Regions from separate parts of the Homo sapiens genome. Here region 1 is linked to region 2. The links are contacts of gene promoters, found by promoter capture Hi-C in human tissues and cell types (Jung and others, 2019). All regions are on one chromosome and are shown on one strand. Each heading gives the region's core, a stretch centred on a gene start or on the middle of the fragment in contact. The rest is flanking DNA. Distances are from core to core; before and after follow the strand shown.

Region 1 (4,235 bases), core at 1,072-3,571, 470 kb after region 2:
GATTCTGATTTTTCAGCAGGCTCCCAGTTGATGTCCTTGCAGCTGGTCGGAGGACTAGCACTTTGAATGACAAGGCCCTGAAGCACTTGGTACAATGCTTTAAATATTAGGTTTGAATTGAAAACAGATGTATAAAAGCGGAAGTTCTTGTTTTCAAAGCCAACGGTTTTACTGGGGAGGCAAGACTAACACATTCAATAGGCTGTGAGCTTAAAAAGAAAAAGAAGTAGGGAGGTAAAGAATTCTGAGGTCAAGAGGCCTGAATTCTTATCATAGCTCTGTCATTTATTAGCTGGGTAACCTTGAACAATTCATTTAACCTCTCAGGACTTAACCGTTCTTATCGGTAAAACAGGGATAGTGATGCCTGCCCAGAAAATTAACATGAACCACAAATAAGAATATATGTACACACTTTGTAAAACTATCAAGTACTATATAAATCAAAAGTTAAAATGGTTTTGTTTAGCACTAATCTGTGGTGTAGATTTTGTGCTGCAGAAGTCACGGTAAATAAGAATTCTGACTGGGAGAGTTCATTAGGAGGTGGATATTGGGAAAAGAAATGGTGAATAGTTAGGGAGTAAAGCAATAGTTATCAACGCCAAATAATCTGTACAACAAACCCCCATGACACAAGTTTACCATATAACAAACATGGACATTTACTGCATTGGATTGAATTTTTTTAACCTAAAGTAAAAATTAAAAAAAAAAAAAAGTTGTCGGCCAGGCGCTGGTGGCTTACTCCTGTAATCCCAGCACTTTGGGAGGCCGAGGCAGGTGGATCACCTGAGGTCGGGGAGTTCGAGACCAGCCTGACCAACATGGAGAAACCCCTGTCTCTACTAAAAATACAAAATTAGCCGGGCGTGGTGGTGCATACCTGTAATCCCAGCTACTTGGGAGGCTGAGGCAGGAGAATCGAGTGAACCTGGGAGGCGGAGGTTACGGTGAGCCGAGATTGCGCCATTATACTCCAGCCTGGGCAACAAGAACAAAACTCCATCTCAAAAAAAAAAAAAAAAGTTGTCAGCCTTGGATACACATTGGAATAACCTGAATAATTCAAAAAATACTGATGCCTAGTCCCATCCCCAGAGTTTCTGATTGTATTGTCTGGGGTGTGGCCTGGCAAGTCTGGATTGTTCTCCATGTGGTTTTAATATGCAGCCAATGTTGAGAACTGCTGGAGTAAAAAGGGTTTTTCTAAGGTCCTGTTTTGTGCCAGATGCTTTATATAAGGCATCTAATTTGGTGAGACGGATACTCCAGGTGGGGGTGTTGTGGGTAAAGGCACAGAAGCAGGAACACACCAGGCATTTTAGGGATGTGGAGCAATTATAATAAACAAGCAGGGAGAGAGATGCTGGGAAAGATAGGTTTGGCCCTGATTTTGCAGAGGTTTGTGCACTGCAGGAAGGGGAGCTTAAGCTCTTTCCTGTGGCCTTGTGAAACCACACAGGCTCCTGAATAGCAGCAGGTTGGTACAAGCAATAGAGGGATAGTCTAAGGCTTAATTAGAGGAGGGAAAAGAACAGAAGGCTAGCAAACTATTTTAGTAATCTGGGGGTACTGGCACTGGGAATGGGATGGAGGGGACCTGCATGAAAGACAGTGAACAAGAATAGGTAGGACTTTGTCGTTGCTTGGCTATAGGGGGTATGAAGACTTTGCTAATGCTGAGGTATTTAGCCCAGGTGACTGGGAGAATGGTGGTACCAGGACAGGTTAGCAGAAGGTGAGTCTTGTGTGGTGAAGTTTGAAGTGGGTGGTCCTAAGAGTGCAGAAGTGGTTTTGGTAGGGAGACGAATTCAATACTAAATTCCTGATCCTATTCCACCCCCCAGGAACTCTCTTATTTTATTTATTTCCTAGCCTAGGGTCAGCCATTAGATAGCCTTCTCTGTGAATCTGACTTAGTGTTACTTTTTGACTTGAAGGTATAACCTTTACCCTTCTTGCTTTTCCTCACCAGTTTGGAGGGAAGCTGGTTACTTTTGGCCTCCCCAGCACCCCTGCCCATCTGGTGCCACAGCCTTGCCCCCGCCTAGTCTTCATCAGTCAAGTCACCACAGAATCTGAATTCCTGATGCGATCAGCTGAGCTGCAGGAGGCCTTGGGATCAGGAAATCTACTGAATTACTGTCAGAACAAGAGCCAGCAAGCTTTACTGCAAAGTGAAAAGATGCTGTGGCAGTTCCTGAAGGTGGGAAGCCTGAAGGCTAGCTGCTCAGAAGTGTCTCCCCAAAGCCTGGAACTCCAACCTCTGTCAACTGCAGGAGAAGCACAAGCACACTGGGACCCAGATCACAGAGGCCTTAACTCCCATTAGTTTTTCCCCCACACTATACCCACCATCTAGACACAAAACGTTCACCCTTTACCAGAGGCTCAAAGGCCATTTGGGAAGAGGCTAGGAAAGATGGGGAATACACGAGATGTTTTCTTTTGTTGCTACTATGGTTGATGTCCTAGGTATTTTACCAGGGCCAAGGCAAAGACCTTCACGGTATCATGCCAAAGGGCAGATAAGGTAATGGGAAGGAAGAAAAAAGGGAGGAAAGAGAAAAAGAGGAGAAAGGAAAAACATTAGTTAGAAGGACATATTGTCATAAGAAGGCTTTGAGTTGGTTTCAAGTAACCCAAGGCAAGTCCTTGGAGTGGGTCCTAGGGTTCAGGTGCCACTGTACACTGGAGGCATGGGTTCAGTTCCAGTTCTCATTTAATTTCAAGTTTCCTGTGACACCAGGAGGAGTACTATACCTATCAAAGGAAATGAGCAAGTGAGAGATCTGAAGGAAGAAAGGCAAGTAGCTGACTGGTCAGTCAGTGGGATGATTGTGCAAGTTTTTGGAATTGTTTAGAAGAAAGCAAAAAGGATTGGGCCTGTACCAGGGCATCTGAGAGGGACTTGAAATTTGAGCTTTAGGCATAGTAGAGCTTTATGAAGGTGGACATCAGGAAGTTAGAGAAAGAGGATTTGAGAAAGATCTTGACTATACAGTGAAGCCAGAGAATGATGTGGGAAGAAAAGAATAAGAAATGATGCTTTTGTCATAAGCAGGATACAAGTTCCAGGAATGGTGAGATGGTAAAGAGAGGGAGTGGTCAGGAGTTCAGCCTTTACTCCGCTAAACAAAGGAGACAGTGGTACCTATAGGACAGAGGGACCTATAGGACAGGGCATTCTGGGTTTTTTTGTTTTTGTTTTTTTGAGACAGAGTTTCACTCTTGTCGCTCAGGCTGGAGTACAATGGCATGATCTTGGCTTACTGCAACTTCTGCCTCCCGGGTTCAAGCAATTCTCCTGCCTCAGCCTCCTAAATAGCTGGGATTACAGGCACCTGCCACCACGCCTGTATTTTTTTTTAGAGACAGGGTTTTTTTTTTTTTGTATTTTTTGTATTTTTTTTGTAGTAGAGACAGGGTTTCACCATGTTGGCCAGGCTAGTCTCGAACTCCTGAACTCAGGTGATCCACCCACCTCAGCCTCCCAAAGTGCTGGCATTATAGGCGTGAGCCACCGCGCCTGGCCAGGCATTCTGGTTTAAAAGCTACCCAAGAGCTGTCCATCATGATGGTTCCTGGTTGGGTGTGGTGAACATTTCCAAGGGAAGGGCATGGAAGGAGAAGGGTGCCCAGAGAGACTATGAGAAAGGTATGGTTAGAAATCATGTTTCAGTGTGGAATAAATTAAGGGCCTGGGACAGCTAACCAAGATTACGGGGGCTTCAGAAAGGTTTGCTCCTTGGTATTTGGGACATTGAGTGGGAAGCTGACTTTGTTTACTGTACCTGTGCAACTTCTACCAGAGGTCTTCTCAAAGAAACATTTAGACTCACAAGGCTGGGTGCGGTGGCTCACGCCTGTAATCCCAGCAATTTGGGAGGCTGAGGTGGGTGGATCACCTGGGGTCAGGAGTTCGAGACCAGCCTGGCCAACATGGTGAAACCCTGTCTCTACTAAAAATACAAAAAATTAGCCGGGCGTGGTTGAGGGCGCCTGTAATTCCAGCTACTTAGGAGGCTGAGACAGGAGAATCACTTGAACCCTGAGGGTGGAGGTTGCAGTGAGCCGACATGGCGCCACTGTACTCCAGCCTGGTTGAGACAGCAAGAGTCTGTCTAAAAAAAAAAAAGAAAAGAAACATTTAGACTCACAAGACTACTGTAGGCTACACTTGGCAGCAGTCTCCTCGGAAGGATATGGGATAGGGACCACAGCAGGGTAGC
Region 2 (4,341 bases), core at 647-3,146:
GGCATAGGCTCCCTGTTTGGGATCTGGGACAGCAGGAAGCTTCAGGCAAGCCGGCCATGCCCCACCCCTCCCTGTGGAGGCACACCTGTTTACCTTTGGGACCTCCTATTTGCTCAGTGCAAAAGGCATGTGTGTGGGGAGCACTATGGCTAGGAGGAACATGCCCCAGGTTAGAGGAGCCACTCAGTGTGGTGCATGTCACACTTATAGTTTAAGAGTCACATGGGTGACTATTAGGAAGGTGATATACATGCACATGGGTGCACACACACACACACACACATGTTCACAAGGAGGACTGTGAACACGTGGATTCACAGGGGTCATTCACACATATACTCACAGGGAGTTTTGTGCACACATATGCTCATACAGAGGGCCACAGCCACAGGTAATCATACATATTCACATGTGACGTTGAATTTACATGCCCATCCATTCAGCAGGTCACACAGCCTCAGACATTGAGGAGAGATAAACCCACACATGTGGGTTTGTGTCAAGGACTGTGCACCTATTCAACAGGAGGGTCCTATACATACACATGTATGTGTAGGGACATGCACACAAACCCATTGATATAGTGGGCCAGGCAATCATGTTCACAGAAGGGTCAAGTACATGTGTGCTCACACGCAGTTCTTGAACACACAACTACATCCATGCAGAGACAAGCACACATGCATACAGGGGTCCAGTTTTTGCCATAGGCTTGGAGGCTGCCAGTGTCCACTGGGGTGAGATGCAGAGCAGAACCCTGCCTCTGTTCCTGAAAGTCCCAATTCTAAGGCCCAATTTCAAGTGTGTGTTTGTGTGTGGGGGTGGTGAGGGGGTTGTGTGTGTGTGTGTGTGTGGTGATGGGGGAGGCTTCTGACCTTGGATGGGCAGATGGGATGGGTGCATGAGTCAAGGCCGCTCTACAAGGGAGGGAATGGGAAAGTAACTCAGGCAGGAGGAGGCCCCTAGCTTCAGCAAAGATGGAATGGAACGCATAATTTAGTACTCCTCCACCCCTATGTATATTGCGGTTCTAAAGGTGGGAGACGGGCTGGAGCTCTCAGCCCCCACTTAACCTGTGGGAGGGGGCGGGGCTAAGTGGGCGGGGCGGAGCATATCACCCCTCCCTTCAGTGGCGAAGTACGGGTTTAAGGTCTCCAGTCCACGCCCCACACTCCACCCCAAGTTCCACAGTTCGGGTTCTTCCCCAGGGCCAGCCCCCTGAACTCTGATCACCTTTCCTCTATTAGATCTTGGGGTGGAGGGAACTGGGGAGGAGAGACCCTTCAAACAGGATCAATGGAGGATCAGCAGGCTCTCGACCTTCATCCCAGATGTCCACCTGCCTAGTGTAGGCGGTATTTCCCTCTGCCTAGTAGGATGGCGGTCTCTCCTGGCTTGAGAGAGCCCCTCCCCCGGGACCCCCTCCCTCCAACATCCTGGACAGTCCGCGGTCCTCTCCCTTCGTCAGGTCTAACCTCAGTCTCTACTGCTGCAGCTCGAGGACAAGCTCTCCTTCGATCCCGCCGGACGCCGGGAGACGTGACCCAGATCCTGGGGAACACTGTTCGCCACGCGGCCCCCTCCCCGCGCTGGTCCCCGACTCCGTGGTGGCCGGTTTGCACCCCGCGCAGCCCGAGGCCTGGCCCGCGCCCCTCTAGAGCCGTCATGCAGGACCGGGGGACTTGGTGGTGAGAAAGGCCTGGCCCAGCTTGGAGGGTAGAATGGACGTGGGGGAGGCCTTGCCCGACCCCCGGCCCGCAGCCCCAGGCTCACGCCAGGGCGCCGCCCGCACTCCTCGCCTTGCTCACCTTTGCGCTCGGATCCGGGGCCATAGAGACAGCGACGCGCGGCTCCGCGGCCCCACAGCACCAGCTGCGAGAGGAAGGGGCCGCGGCTGGAGGCGGGGCGGGGGGGGGGTGGTGGAGGCGGAGCCGGGGGTGGGGCGGGGTCCTGAAAGGCGGGGCCGACTGGGTGGGGTGAGGGGAAGGTCGCCACTCTCTTCTTTGCGCCCCCTACTCTAGCACAATAGAGGCGGTTTGAGGGCGAGGCTCACACACAGCCTTCGGCCATCGGGCGACCCCCCACCTCTAGGCGCTGCGGCCCTGAAATCGCCCCCTGGTGGTGGCCTCGCCACCCCGTGCACCCTCCACATGCTTATAGCCCGTCCTCTCCTCCGCTGTAACCCTAGGACCCCCCTGACTTGCCTACTGCTGGGGACGTGCAAACCTGTCCTGGCGTTGCGGGGTTGGGGGACCCTCTCGGAGGGCCTTCTGGCCTGTCCTCTAACCTGGACCTCACTCCCTGTGCTCCTGCCACCCGCTTCTGCTCTCGGCCTAGGGTGTGGAGGGAAGGCTACCCTAGGTGGCGACTGGACGTTAGGGAAGCTCTGAACACAAGGTAGGGGCTTGATTCCCAGCTTCAGGGGCTGTTCAGCTTGAGCTATGCGTGGGGGAGATGGGGTCAGGCCTGAAGGGGATAAAGTAACAGCCTGACCTGAAAGGCACACAGAAAATGCTTTTTCTGGATAAATAAGCCACAAGCGTTTGCACCTGTTCACTCACCAAATCTTAACCCTAACCTAGGCTCACCTCAGGGACTGGGTCATTCAAACACTTGCCTTCCCCTCCAGCTCATCTTGGGCACCATTCTTATCCAGAACTTAGAGTGCACCCTTCTAGGCAATCAAGTACCCTATCCTTCCCAGATTCAATCACCTTACCCAGCAGCAATCTAGGAAACCCCTCACAATCAACTCCCCAACTCCTTTAACTCAACTAGGATGGTCCTTCTGTGCAAACTTGGTTCCTGCCTCCTTTAATAGGTCACAGCCTATTAAAGTGAACTTAGCCCCTATAGTCCAAACAAAACCTGCATTCAGGCCCTGACCCAGCCTGGTCCTTCCTCCTCCATCCATGACAGTATTCATGTGGGCTCAAGAGATGGACCAAAATGATAAAGGCCACAGGAACATATGTGATTGACTCTTGCATGTGCCTAGGAGTCAGAACAGGATTCAAGTGGCACATTTAACTAAAGGAAACTTGGGAAAGGCTTCATCCTTCTTTCTGGATTCCCCAAAGCTCACAGTTTGGCACTGAATCATATACAATCTCGTAGTTTGGATGGCTGTGTGTGACTGCAGACTGCTAGACAGCAGGGCCCACATCACAGTTCCACCTCCCCCAACACTCTGCAAATAGGATGTGTGTGGCGGGGAGAGGGAAGGTAGCTGGGGAGAAACACAATAAAAAATGTACACACACTTTTACAAAGAATATCCTGCTTCATTTTTTATTTGTACCCTCATCCCATCCTGAGGAATTTATAGCCCCATTTTATGGATGGGGAAACAGGCTCTAAGACATTAAGTAACTTGCCTTGAAGTTCATTCTTGTGTTTATGGAGAGGACAATCAAGACTGGAAAAGTCTGAGAAGGAGGAAGCAGGGTAAGCCAGAAGGGGAAATACCATTGGCAAAGGTAGAAATGTTCAAGCTTATGCACAGGCTTGTGTTGGGGAACTAAGGAAGGGGCATGAAAGAGGGCAGTGAGTTTGATTTGATGAAATGGCTGGGGGGGGGGGGGGGGCGGGGAGGGGTTCCTAGTGGGAAATAAAAGGGAAAAGTCAGCTAGTAGTTTGAAAAAGACCACAGAAGAAAATCCTGAAAGAGATGATGGACTGAGTAAGGACGTCTGAGGTGGGAAGACCAGTCAAGGCAGGGCTAAGAAAGATAAATCTGCAGTCCTTATCAAAAAGTGGGTTGGTGGTAACAGTGGAGGCAGGGTAGGAAGACTGCTGGTCCTTCAGTAGCAGATAGGAGAGCAATTAAACTGTAGGGGCCCAGGGGGCTAAGAGGCACAGCTTCCCAAATGTTCACAGAACCTGCAGTGCTGACTTCAGATAGCTCTGGAGGTGGCGAGTAGGCCAGTGTGGTAGGCTCAGTATCACTCAACTTCACTTTATGAACCAAGCTTTGCTCCTCTGAGGTGCTGATGGCAAACTCAGACATTGTTAAATGAGCAAAATGTGTGATTTCAATGATCACTGGGCAGTTACTTCAGTACTTTTGATAGCAGACCACAATCCATTTCCTTCTGCTAGCCTCCCAGTAAAATCTCTAAACCTAATGAGAGTATCAGATGTAAAAGCAATTAATGGAGCTGCCCATAGGAAGCCCTTTTGATTGACAGTATGTCTCTCTGCAAATCCAGCTGGTAAAATAAGAACGGGGGAATACTGACAGACAGTGGAAAAGAAAACTGGAAATCAACTAAAGAAATTAACCCTAACCCAGCCATAAATCTGCATCCTGGGACACAGGCAGGTCATTCTTTGAACAGG

What was found. Contacts are between HindIII fragments. The study calls those that stand out against the background at their distance.
Region 1: a contact is called between a fragment that was not itself captured here and the fragment with the promoter of SEMA4G in region 2, in 1 of the 25 tissues and cell types used here (lymphoblastoid cells).

Annotation. Positions count from the first base shown.
Region 1 is chr10:100,500,228-100,504,462 of GRCh38, reverse strand. It overlaps SEC31B (SEC31 homolog B, COPII component), which reads left to right. Exons shown (of 26, transcript NM_015490.4): 11 at 1,979-2,209. Among named protein-coding and RNA genes, the nearest start is that of SEC31B, 18 kb to the left of the region's middle. The HindIII fragment of the contact is 5,735 bases long and covers 1-4,235 here.
Region 2 is chr10:100,967,059-100,971,399 of GRCh38, reverse strand. SEMA4G (semaphorin 4G) reads right to left here and starts at 1,896. Exons shown (of 15, transcript NM_017893.4): 1 at 1,809-1,896. RefSeq lists a silencer at 1,880-1,939. The HindIII fragment of the contact is 9,481 bases long and covers 1-3,733 here.